Linked DNA regions of Homo sapiens: region 1 is linked to region 2. The links are contacts of gene promoters, found by promoter capture Hi-C in blood cells and fetal thymus (Javierre and others, 2016). All regions are on one chromosome and are shown on one strand. The core of a region is centred on a gene start or on the middle of the fragment in contact, and the rest is flanking DNA. Distances in the headings are between cores, read along the strand shown. Region 1 holds the start of TMEM35B (transmembrane protein 35B). Region 2 holds the start of PSMB2 (proteasome 20S subunit beta 2).

Evidence for each region. The method cuts DNA at HindIII sites, captures the fragments that hold promoters and counts their contacts. A CHiCAGO score of 5 or more calls a contact.
Region 1: the fragment with the promoter of TMEM35B here is called in contact with the fragment with the promoter of PSMB2 in region 2 in 3 of 17 cell types (naive CD4 T cells, fetal thymus and M2 macrophages); the score reaches 6.5 in naive CD4 T cells.

The regions. Positions count from the first base shown.
Region 1 is chr1:34,983,448-34,989,040 of GRCh38, reverse strand. TMEM35B (transmembrane protein 35B) reads left to right here and starts at 3,694. Exons shown (of 3, transcript NM_001195156.2): 1 at 3,694-3,843; 2 at 5,094-5,274. The coding sequence starts at 3,736. It overlaps ZMYM6 (zinc finger MYM-type containing 6), which reads left to right. Exons shown (of 16, transcript NM_007167.4): 16 at 106-2,876. The coding sequence ends at 1,937. RefSeq lists silencers at 3,716-4,005, 4,066-4,135. The HindIII fragment of the contact is 1,524 bases long and covers 2,914-4,437 here.
Region 2 is chr1:35,639,217-35,645,328 of GRCh38, reverse strand. It overlaps PSMB2 (proteasome 20S subunit beta 2), which reads left to right and starts at 3,803. Exons shown (of 6, transcript NM_002794.5): 1 at 3,803-3,987. The coding sequence starts at 3,897. RefSeq lists enhancers at 2,898-3,862, 3,615-4,074, 3,863-4,828. The HindIII fragment of the contact is 1,783 bases long and covers 2,995-4,777 here.

The DNA.
Region 1 (5,593 bases), core at 2,445-4,944, 660 kb after region 2:
AATAGAAATAGTAACAAAATATGAATTTTAAATATGTGGGGAGATACATAAAGAACATTGCTTATTTGTTCTTGAAAATAACAGTGATTCAAATATTTCATTCAGATTTACCTATGCCTAATGAAAAAAATGATGCAGAACTTGATTCTCCACCTTCAAAGAAAAAAAGATTAGGTTTTTTCCAGACTTATGATACAGAATATTTAAAAGTTGGTTTTATTATCTGTCCTGGATCAAAAGAAAGTTCACCAAGGCCACAGTGTGTCATTTGTGGAGAGATCTTATCCAGTGAAAACATGAAGCCAGCAAATCTTTCTCATCATTTGAAGACAAAACATTCAGAATTAGAAAACAAACCAGTAGATTTTTTTGAACAAAAATCTTTAGAAATGGAATGTCAAAATAGTTCTTTAAAAAAGTGTTTACTAGTTGAAAAGTCACTTGTGAAAGCTTCTTATTTAATTGCTTTCCAAACTGCTGCAAGCAAGAAGCCATTCTCCATTGCTGAAGAATTAATTAAACCATATTTAGTAGAAATGTGTTCAGAAGTTTTGGGTTCAAGTGCTGGAGACAAAATGAAAACTATTCCACTTTCTAATGTTACAATTCAACACAGGATTGATGAACTATCTGCAGACATTGAAGACCAGCTGATTCAAAAGGTCAGAGAGTCAAAGTGGTTTGCCCTTCAGATAGATGAGTCATCAGAAATCTCAAATATCACACTTCTTTTGTGCTATATTCGTTTCATTGATTATGATTGTCGTGATGTAAAAGAAGAATTATTATTTTGCATTGAAATGCCTACTCAAATAACTGGCTTTGAAATATTTGAACTAATAAATAAATATATTGATAGTAAATCTCTGAATTGGAAACATTGTGTTGGTCTCTGTACCGATGGGGCTGCAAGCATGACTGGCAGGTATTCTGGTTTAAAAGCAAAAATTCAAGAAGTTGCCATGAATACAGCGGCATTTACACATTGTTTTATTCACCGTGAACGTTTAGTGGCAGAAAAGTTGTCTCCATGTTTACATAAAATTCTTTTGCAGTCAGCACAAATTTTAAGTTTTATAAAGAGCAATGCATTAAATTCACGTATGTTAACAATTTTGTGTGAAGAGATGGGATCTGAGCATGTGAGTTTACCGCTTCATGCTGAAGTACGTTGGATATCAAGAGGGAGAATGTTAAAAAGATTATTTGAATTACGACATGAGATTGAAATATTTTTAAGTCAAAAGCATTCAGATTTGGCCAAGTATTTTCATGATGAGGAATGGGTTGGAAAGCTGGCCTACTTATCAGATATATTTTCACTTATAAATGAATTAAATTTAAGTCTCCAAGGAACTTTGACTACTTTCTTCAATTTGTGTAATAAAATTGATGTATTTAAGAGAAAGTTAAAAATGTGGTTGAAGCGCACACAAGAGAATGATTATGACATGTTCCCTTCATTTTCTGAATTCTCAAATTCATCAGGCTTAAATATGACAGACATCACAAGGATTATTTTTGAGCACCTGGAAGGACTTTCTCAAGTGTTCAGTGACTGTTTTCCACCAGAACAAGACTTGCGTTCAGGAAATTTGTGGATAATTCACCCTTTTATGAATCACCAAAATAATAATCTCACCGACTTCGAAGAAGAAAAGCTAACAGAGCTATCTTCAGATTTAGGATTACAAGCACTATTTAAATCAGTGTCTGTAACTCAGTTTTGGATAAATGCAAAGACAAGTTACCCAGAACTCCATGAAAGGGCAATGAAATTTTTATTACCCTTTTCAACTGTTTATTTATGTGATGCTGCCTTTTCAGCTTTGACTGAGTCAAAACAAAAAAATCTGTTGGGTTCTGGCCCTGCCCTAAGACTTGCAGTCACATCTTTAATTCCAAGGATAGAAAAATTAGTGAAGGAGAAAGAGTAGCAATATGCACATTGCTTAACAGTGAAGTCAATAATCCTGTGTTAAGTTTTGTATAAGTATCCTAAAAGATAATTTCCTAATGTGGATTTGTGTTTTCAGTGATTAAATGTTTTAATAATTTTTCCCTTTTTGTTGAGGAATTTAATAATTATGATTGTTATAAATAATTATGTATAATTATAATCTAGGGTAGAAAATTTAGTTATTTCATTAAATTTGGACTAGTGACAAAGACTGCAGGTAATGAGAAGCCCAGTTTATAATGTAACAGCACAACCTGGATGTTGAAACAGCTTGGCCTTTAGAAGCAAGTGGAACATTTCAGTCTTCTAGCCAACCAGCTACTTACCCCTGCAAGGTTGTGAGTAGGTGGAAAAGATAGATCTTTTTTTTGAGATGGAGTTTTGCTCTTGTTGCCCAGGCTGGAGTGCAATGGCGTGATCTTGGCTCACTGGAACCTCTGCCTCCTAGGTTCAAACAATTCTCCTGCCTCAGCCTTCCAAGTAGCTGGGGTTACAGGCATGTGCCACCATGCCCGTCTATTGTATTTTTTTTAGTAGAGACGGGGTTTCACCATATTGGTCAGGCTGGTCTCTATCTCCTGACCTCAAGTGATCCACCTGCCTCGGCCTCCCAAAGTGCTGGGATTACAAGTGTGAGCCAACGTGCCCAGCTGGAAAAAGATAGATCTAAGCAGCTTGGGTAACTATAAATGGAAGCAGCAGGGGGATTTGAGACCCCTGCTTGGGGCCTTTCTGGCCCAATATACCAGGGCTTAGCAAACTTTTTAAATAAAGAGCCAGATAGTAAATATTTTCAGCTTTGCAGGCCATACTGTCACAACTACTCAATTCTGCAGTTGCAGTGCAAAAGCAGCCATAGACAATATGCAGATAAGTGTGGCTGTTTTTAAATAAAACTTATTCATGAACACTGAAATATGAATTTCATATAATTTTCCTATGTCACACAAGCTTCTTTAAAAAATGTTTTTATCATAAAAAATGTAAACAAACATTATTAGCTTGGGGGAAGGGGAGAAGCATGGAAAAAAATCAGACATCTGGCCAAATTTGGCCCATGGTTTGCCCATCCCAGCTTTAGACAGATTTCCAGGTAAGAGCAAATGGGCCAGGAGTGGACTGTAGGGCTTGGTTCAGTGAAAGCCTCTCTATCCATGCAAGTATCTGAATTTTCAAACACCTTTCACATTTCATTGTCAGCCGAGATAAATTAGAGGGAAAAGATATCTCAGGCAAAGAGACTTATTTAATAATTAATGGTTATTGATTTATTACAATTTTATAAATTAATTTACTAATTTACAAATAACTTTCTGAGCTCTTACATGTGCAGGCACTGTGCTAGGCCTGTTACAAACTCTGGAGAACTGAGTTATCCCCATATACAGATGCAGATACTGAGGCCCTTTGGGGTGGGTGACAGCTCAGATCCCACAGCTAGTGTGGCACAGGCAGGAACGAAGCCCGGGGTCTTTTGATGGTAGCTGAACCGCACCCAGACACCCACCCGTGTCTGCCAGCACTCCGTATTGGCTGGGAAACACTCCCTGAATCCAAAGGTGCCTGTTTAGTCAGTTACCAGCCAGTGGTCCTCAAGTGTCCCCACCTGTAAGATGGGGGCGCCCTGCCCCAGTACTGCAGCCTCGCGACCCCCTGGAGGGTGGGGGACGGTAGCTCAGGCGAGAGTCTTCCGGCTGCCCCGGGGAGGGAGGAAATGAGCCGGCGGCAGGGGCGGGTTTTCGGCGGGGCCAACCCACGGTGGGGGGAGCGCGGCCATGGCGCTCCTGCTTTCGGTGCTGCGTGTACTGCTGGGCGGCTTCTTCGCGCTCGTGGGGTTGGCCAAGCTCTCGGAGGAGATCTCGGCTCCAGTTTCGGAGCGGATGGTGAGCGGCGCGGGCGGGCGGCAGGGGATCGGGCCCGCGGCGGCGTGTGCTCCGCCCTGCCGCTCCTCGCCCCCGGCCCGGCAGGCCGCCTTCGGGCTTCCGAGGCTCAGCTGGAGCTGGGGGAAAGCGCCTGGCTTTCGACTGAGGCGCAGGTCCTGCCTGGGGAGTTCCTCGAGTTCTCTGGATCTTCCCTAGACGGAAGGGGACAGAACCTCCCCTTCCTGCAGAATATTGGTGGCCCCAGGCAAATCTAGAGCCTTAGGAGGTCCCTCCCACCCCCCCGGACCCTGGGGGAGGATGATGCGGTGGGAAAATGAGCTCACTTCCCGCTCTCTTCCCTCTTTTCGCCGTTTGCTTCAGTTTTTGGGAGGTTCGTGGGGTTGGGGTGTAGTAATCCTGGCTTTGCAGGGAAGGAAGCCCGCCCTGAAGGGCAAGTATATCTGCTAAAGATTGCACATCTAGTCAGGAAGCAGGACACAAGCTAGACACTCCTAACTCGGAACCCAGAGAGGGAAGCCTCTCTCGGAAGCCTGAGAGGGATGCCCTGAAGTCGTCTTTCAGCCTTCTGTCTAGTTCCAGACTCATGGGAAAGCTTTCATATCCTGTTCACCAATCTCCCCAGTCCCTCAAAAGAGCCAGACTTGTAGACCTCTGCTGGCATCTCTCTCCAAGGCCTGGATAAATCCCCAGAGACAGACAGCTTAGAGCTGCTTCCCAGCAGAGCTGAGGAGGGGAGGTAGAGCTGAGGAGTGGGAACAGGAAAAAGTATCCCCGAAAGTAAGGATGAAGTTGTCATTTGGCTCAGGGGAGGGCCTGCCTTGACAAGAAGAGTCACTTTGAGCCCACCTAACTCTGCCTCACCTCCAAATATTCCCTGTACAGCAGCCTTAAGAGAAACCAGGCCAGACACAAAGAAGGAAACTGTGGAATTCCCCAGGCCTTGGCACTAGGGAGCCAAGCCCAGCCCCCTCCTCCTGGGATTTGGGGCTGGGTTGTAATCTCTTGAGAGGTCTAGTGAGAAGATCAATCTCTGTACCACTTGGAGCATGGAGCCTGTTTCCTGATTCCAAAGCTCAGCGCCACAGGGCAGCCCTCTCCTCTTCAGGCTGACCTCAGCCCTGGACCTGACCTAGAGTAGTAGTTCTTTTCTCTGGGAAGTTGAGGGCACAGGCATAGATATGCCATGGAGCATCTGGGGAGCTCATCCTTGTTGAACAATGAGGCTAACAGGCATTCCTTGCCACCCCTAGAATGCCCTGTTCGTGCAGTTTGCTGAGGTGTTCCCGCTGAAGGTATTTGGCTACCAGCCAGATCCCCTGAACTACCAAATAGCTGTGGGCTTTCTGGAACTGCTGGCTGGGTTGCTGCTGGTCATGGGCCCACCGATGCTGCAAGAGATCAGTAACTTGTTCTTGATTCTGCTCATGATGGGTAAGGGGGCCAACTGGCCTGAGAAAATGGGGTCTTCTGGGGGAGGATTATGGAAAGACCTGGCTGTTCCCCCTTACTGTTGCCACCCTTCTTTTTTCTCTGGGATCAAGAGCACTTTCTGCTCTACCACAGTTTCCATGGTCTTCAAACTAGCACAGGTATTTTTTTTTTTTTTTTTTTTTTTTTTTGAGATGGAGTCTCGCTCTTTCGCCCAGGCTGGACTGCAGTGGCACTATCTCTGCTCACTGCAACCTCCGCCTCCTGGGTTCACACCATTCTCCTGCCTCAGCCTCCCGAGTAGCTGGGACTACAGGCGCCT
Region 2 (6,112 bases), core at 2,554-5,053:
GCAGACTATAGTCCATGAGCCAAGCCCACCTTCCCCCTTCCCCTACCTGTTTTTTAAGCAAAGTTTTATTGGAACACAGCCATGCTCTCTTGTTTATGTATTGTCTATGGCTGCTTTCTCACTGTAATGGCAGTTGTTAGTTGTTAGTAGTTGTTACAGAGAAAGTATGACCTGCAAAGCCAAAAATATTTACTATCTGTAAATATTTTGGCTACATTATGCTACTTCTGTGAACCTCCACAGACTTCTAATTCTAAGACTCAGTTATTCTAAGACTTTAGTTGGAGGAGAGTGACACAGCACAAGCTAGGTCTTGAAAACCTACTTTCTTCTATACTAACAAGAAATGAGGGCAGCTCTAGTGCTACTTAGCTAAAGCAGATTTCAAAAAGTCCTAGGGAGAGCTGGGTGTGGTGTCATGTGACTGTAGTGCAGCTACTTGGGAGGCTGAGGCAGGAGGATCACTTGAACCCAGGATTTTGTCTCAAAAAAATAAAAATAAAAATAAAAAAGCCTGGAAAGAAAGAAGGATGAATCAGCTTAAAAGATAGTCCTTAAAAATAATAATAAAAATACTGTGGATCTTCCAATTCAGAAATCTGCAGCGTTTGTGAATGAATGAATATTGGTATGTACAAAGGAAAAGTCTGGAAGGATACAGACATTCAGTGGGTGGTTACCTTTGGCGGAAGGAAAGGTATTTAACTCTTTGTTTCTTCTATATTGTTTGTGTATGTGTGTATATATAGTATAACTATGTACTTTTTGCAATTAAAAAAACACACAAACACACACAATGAGGATGAGAGAGAGAGAGAGAGAGACCTCCCCCCTCCAAGTGGTATTTAAGAAAACAATCTTTCTAGAGTGATGGATGCAGCTGTGTTCATAGTGGATGGTTGACTTAATGACCTCACTTGCCCCTGGCATCCATCCCATGATTGATAGGCTGCCTCAAACTCCTCAGGCTCTGTGTTCCTTTATGTGCAGGGAGCTGGAAGAAACATTCAGAATAAAGTATTACAATTTCTGCAGAGACAAACGAATTGCATAGTTGTGTTTGGAGATACAACTGCAACTCGTTTCCCATTTCTCAATAAGCTAGTATGAAGACTCAGTTGTGGATGTCAGAAACCCAATCAAGAAATATTTCACCTTTTTTTCAGAATTGCTTCAAGATATAAAGGGATGGCTGTTTTTTTTTCTATTAGAAAAAATACAAATAGTACATGAGCACTGTAAAACATTCAAACAATACCCATGTGTATAAAATAAAAAGTGAAAGTTCTCCCTTCAAATTACACTCACCAGGGTAATAAATGCAAATAATTTGACACTAGAATACCTGTAAACAGGTATTTACAGGTATTCCATTCATATTCAAATATTCATAGTTAAACAAAATGGCATCAGGCTACATATAAAAAAGCATTTTTACTTTCACTTAATGTATCTTGGGCCATGGAATATATAGGTATATTTAGATTCATCTCATTCTTTTTATGGGTGCACAATATTCCACTATGACTGTACTACATTTTTTTTTTTTTTGAGACAGAGTTTTGCCCTTGTTGCCCAGGCTGGAGTGCAGTGGCACGATCTCAGCTCACTGTAACCTCTGTCTCCCAGGTTCAAGCGATTCTCCTGCCTCAACCTCTTGAAGTGGCTGGGATTACAGGCGCCTGCCACCTCGCCCGGCTAATTTTTTGTATTTAGTAGAGACCGGGTTTCACCATGTTGGTCAGGCTGGTCTCGAACTCCTCACCTCACGTGATCCACCTACCTTGGCCTTCCAAAGTGATGGGATTACAGGCATGAGCCACCACACCCGGCCCAACAATGTCTCCACTTTTAGACACGTAAGTTGGTCCTCTTTTGTGTTGTAGTGCTGCAACACTAAATATCTCTCTCTCTTTTTTTTTTTTTTTTGAGAGAGAGTCTTGCTCTGTTGCCCAGGCTGGAGTGTAATGGTGTGATCTTGGCTCACTGCAACCTCTGCCTCCCGGGTTCAAGCGATTCTCTTGCCTTGGCCTCCCCAGTAGCTGGGATTACAGGTGCCGCACCACCACGCCCAGCTAATTTTGGTATTTTTAGTAGAGACGGGGTTTCATCATGTTGGCCAGGCTGGTCTCGAACTCCTGAACTCGTGATCCGCTCGTCTTGGCCTCCCAAAGTGCTAGGATTACTGGCGTGAGCCACTGCCCCTGGCAACACTGAGTATCTCGGTACACAAATATTTGGACTGTGTGTCCAAACATTTCTTTTGGACATATTCAAAAGGTTATGCATATTTAACAGATATTAAAATTGTTCTCTATAAAAAGGTTGTACAACTTAGAACCTTACCCCCAATTTATACTTTCTCATTGTTTCTTATTTCCCATTTTCCTAATTACCATCAAGGTTGAGGATCTTTTCATGTTTATTGGCCATTCGTGTTGCTTCTTTTGTGAATTGTTTTTCTTAGTCTTTGGTCTTTTTTTATTTTTTATTTTTTTTTTTGAGATGGAGTCTCTCTGTTGCACAGGCTGGAGTGGAGGGGCGCTATCTCGGCTCACTGCAATCTCCGCCTCCTAGGTTCAAGCAATTCTCCTGCTTCAGCCTCCGGAGTAGTACAGGCGCCTGCCACCACGCCCAACTAATTTTTTGTATTTTTAGTAGGGACGGGGTTTCACCATATTGGCCAGGCTGTTCTCGAACTCCCGACCTCTTGATCCGCCCCCGTGCCCTGCCGGGTCTTTTAAAAATGGTATTGTCTCACCCGGCTCCCCTCCCATTGGTTTGTAGGAATATCTTTTAAGTTATAGATATTAACTTTTTCCTTTCTTCTGTCTATAAGGTCCAAAATAGTAACTATTTCTACAATTGAAACATTCCCAATTTACATTTACTGTTGAGCATGATAATGACTTTCACCACATAGAGACGTGTAATTTTAGGTAGTCAAATCTGTCAAGTCTTTTCTCATATTGCTTCTGGGTTCCCTGTCAAGCTTAGAAACACATCTCTTCCAAAAATTACAGAAATATTTTTCTACTTTTTCTTCCATGTTTGTATCTCTCTCCCTCTCTTTTTTTTTTTTTTTTTTTTTTTTTTTTTTTTTTTTTTTTTTTTGAGACGGAGTTTCGCTTTTGTTGCCCAGGCTGGAGTGCTCACCGCAACCTCCGCCTCCAGGGATCAAGCGATTCTCTGTCTCAGCCTCCAGAGTAGCTGGGATTACAGGCATGCGCCACCACGCCCAGCTAATTTTGTATTTTTAGTAGAGACGGGGTTTCTCCATATTGGTCAGGCTGGTCTCGAACTCCCAAGCTCAGGTGATCCGCCTGCCTTGGCCTCCCAAAGTGCTGGGATTACAGGCGTGAGCCACTGCGCCCGGCCATGCTTATATCTTTAATCCAACCATATACTATTTTTGTGAAGGATGGAAGTAAGGCTCCCCTCAAGTTAATTTTTCTCCAATCTGGCTTGCAGGAAAGGGGTTTCTGGGGAGATTTTACCGAGCAACGTAGGGAAACGGCTGCCTGGCTACCTACCCCTTTTTGACACCCACACGTGCTCGGCACCTTACATACACTGCGTGATTTTATCCTAAAGCCACTTTTAAAATCTTAGTGTGTAAACAGAGAAACTGGGCGTCACATAAGGCAAGTGACCTGCACAGCCTGCTCCGGAGGAGACCCGTACGATCCCAGAGACAAGCACTGAACATAAGGCACCCGGCGCCGCGCCCGCTTTGCAACCTCTCGCGACAGTTGTACGTCATCCGAGAGCGCCGTGGAAGTCGTGCTGCAGGCGTCGCGCCAATCTTCGCTCTGAGGTGCTGTCTCACCGGTGAGACCTGGAAGCGGGCGAGTCTCGTGCTGTGTCGGACCTGCAGCCCCTGGCCTTCCGCCACCATGGAGTACCTCATCGGTATCCAAGGCCCCGACTATGTTCTTGTCGCCTCCGACCGGGTGGCCGCCAGCAATATTGTCCAGATGAAGGACGGTGAGAGGAAGCAGGGGAGGCCCGGCCAGGCCTGGGGTGTAGGAGCGGCCAGAAGGAGTTTGTCGGGGGTTGAATAAGTACCAGGGAGGATCTGAGAGATGGAAGCCGGCCTGCCCTGCCCGTACTTATTTTATTTATTTATTTATTTTTTCGAGAGGGGTTTCGCTCTTGTTGTCCAGGCCGGAGTGCAATGGCGCGATCTCGGCTTAGCACAGTCTTTGTCTCCCGGGTTCAAGCGATTCTCGTGCCTCAGCCTCCCGAGTAGCTGGGAACAGATATGCGCCACCACGCCTGGCTAATTTTTGTATTATTAGTAGAGATGTGGATTTCTCCATATTGGTCAGGCTGGTCTCGAACTCCCGACCTCAGGAGATCCGCCCGTCTCGGCCTTCCAAAGTGCTGGGATTACAGGCGAAACAGGCAGACAGGTCTGGGACCTTGGCATTTGCTCCTCCAGGGCTCCTGGGTCAGTGCTCTGCTCTGGCCTTCGCTAAATGCTTCTTGCTTGGTGAGAGTTGCCTAAAGGGAATCAGTTTATAAATGTTTAAGCGCCTGCCCAGAGCCTGGCTCTCTAGATCCCCGAATCTCTGATAAGTTTCCTGGTGTCGCTAGTAATGAGGTTAGTTTGTTGGCGGCATAAGGTGGGATCCTGAGGAGAGTGAGACTGTGGGACTGGCTCTCTAGATCCCCGAATCTCTGATAAGTTTCCTGGTGTCGCTAGTAATGAGGTTAGTTTGTTGGCGGCATAAGGTGGGATCCTGGGGAGAGTGAGACTGTGGGACCAGAAGCTTGGCATTTTCCTTCTTCCCGTGGCTCCCGATTCTTCTTTTCCAGTTTTCCAGAGCAATGGCTGCCAGGTTTTCCTTATATTTAAGTAGTTAATGGAGTTAAGAGATTGGAGCCCTGTCATTTATTTGCCTTATGAGTTTGTATAAGTTATTTTGCAGTGCCCAGATTTCCTCATCTTTAAGATTAGCAATACCAAACTCACAAACTTGTCGGGAGGATTTAGTAAATGAGTTATGTGCAAATCCTTAGCACTAGGCAGGTACTTAATAATACTAAGTGTACGTAGGTGCCCAAACATATTTGTCAAATGACCATTAAGTCATCTGAACCAAAGCTTAATACTTTTTCAACAGTAGCACGTCTTTGATCAGTTAAGGAAAACAAACTTAGATTCTGCAGAAAAACAACCAAAATCTTCTTAAAATTATGTATTGAGTAATTTAGTATAGATAGTATAGTATAGTATAGTATAGTATAGTATAGTATAGTATATTATAGTACTTAGGGGCAAAATGTCTGGACTCACTGCATAGGTTGAACCCAGGTTCTGCCACTTGTGACCTTAAGCAAATTTCTCTAACTCCGTGCCCTAGAGCTAACATCTATAAGGTGGTAATGTAATAGCACCTATCTCAAAAGGTTAATGAATTAATGTAAATCACTTAACATAGCACCTTATACTTTATGAAATTCTATGATTAGTTTGTAGAAGTTTTGTTTGTAAGCCAGTCCTTCCAAAGGAGTGAATTTGTTTTGAGAGTAAATTTGTCCATTATTTTGAATACTAAGGTCTTTGACAAGCAAGTGATTTTAACATTAAGTCATGTCTAGGTAGAACAATAATCATTATCTTTACAGGTCTTTTGTTTCATCCCAAATGTATGTGAAATCACATTGAAAAGTAGAATGTGCTTTAAGCCTACTTATGTACACAGTACTTTTAGTCATTATAGGGGATGCAGTATATTACTTATAACCCATAGAAGAGTCCAAGACATTAAGAAAACAAGGAAATAAATGCTGCAAGATGATTTTATATAATAAAAGAAGTATTACTAGTTAGTAGTAGGTTGGTTTTTAAATTAATGAGTTCAAGAGCAAATCCTAAGAGTAATAAAAGAAAGATAACTATGGTATGGGAGAAAGATGAATTTGAGTTAGTTCTTGAAAAATAATTGGAAATAGTTGCACTCTGCACATTCCAATTTTCCCTATAGTCTTTTCTGGTATAAAACAAATTATAATAGAAATTTTAGTATTGTATGATGACTTTTTTATTTATTTTATTTATTTATTTTTGAGACAGAGTCTCGCTCTGTCACCCAGGCTGGAGTGC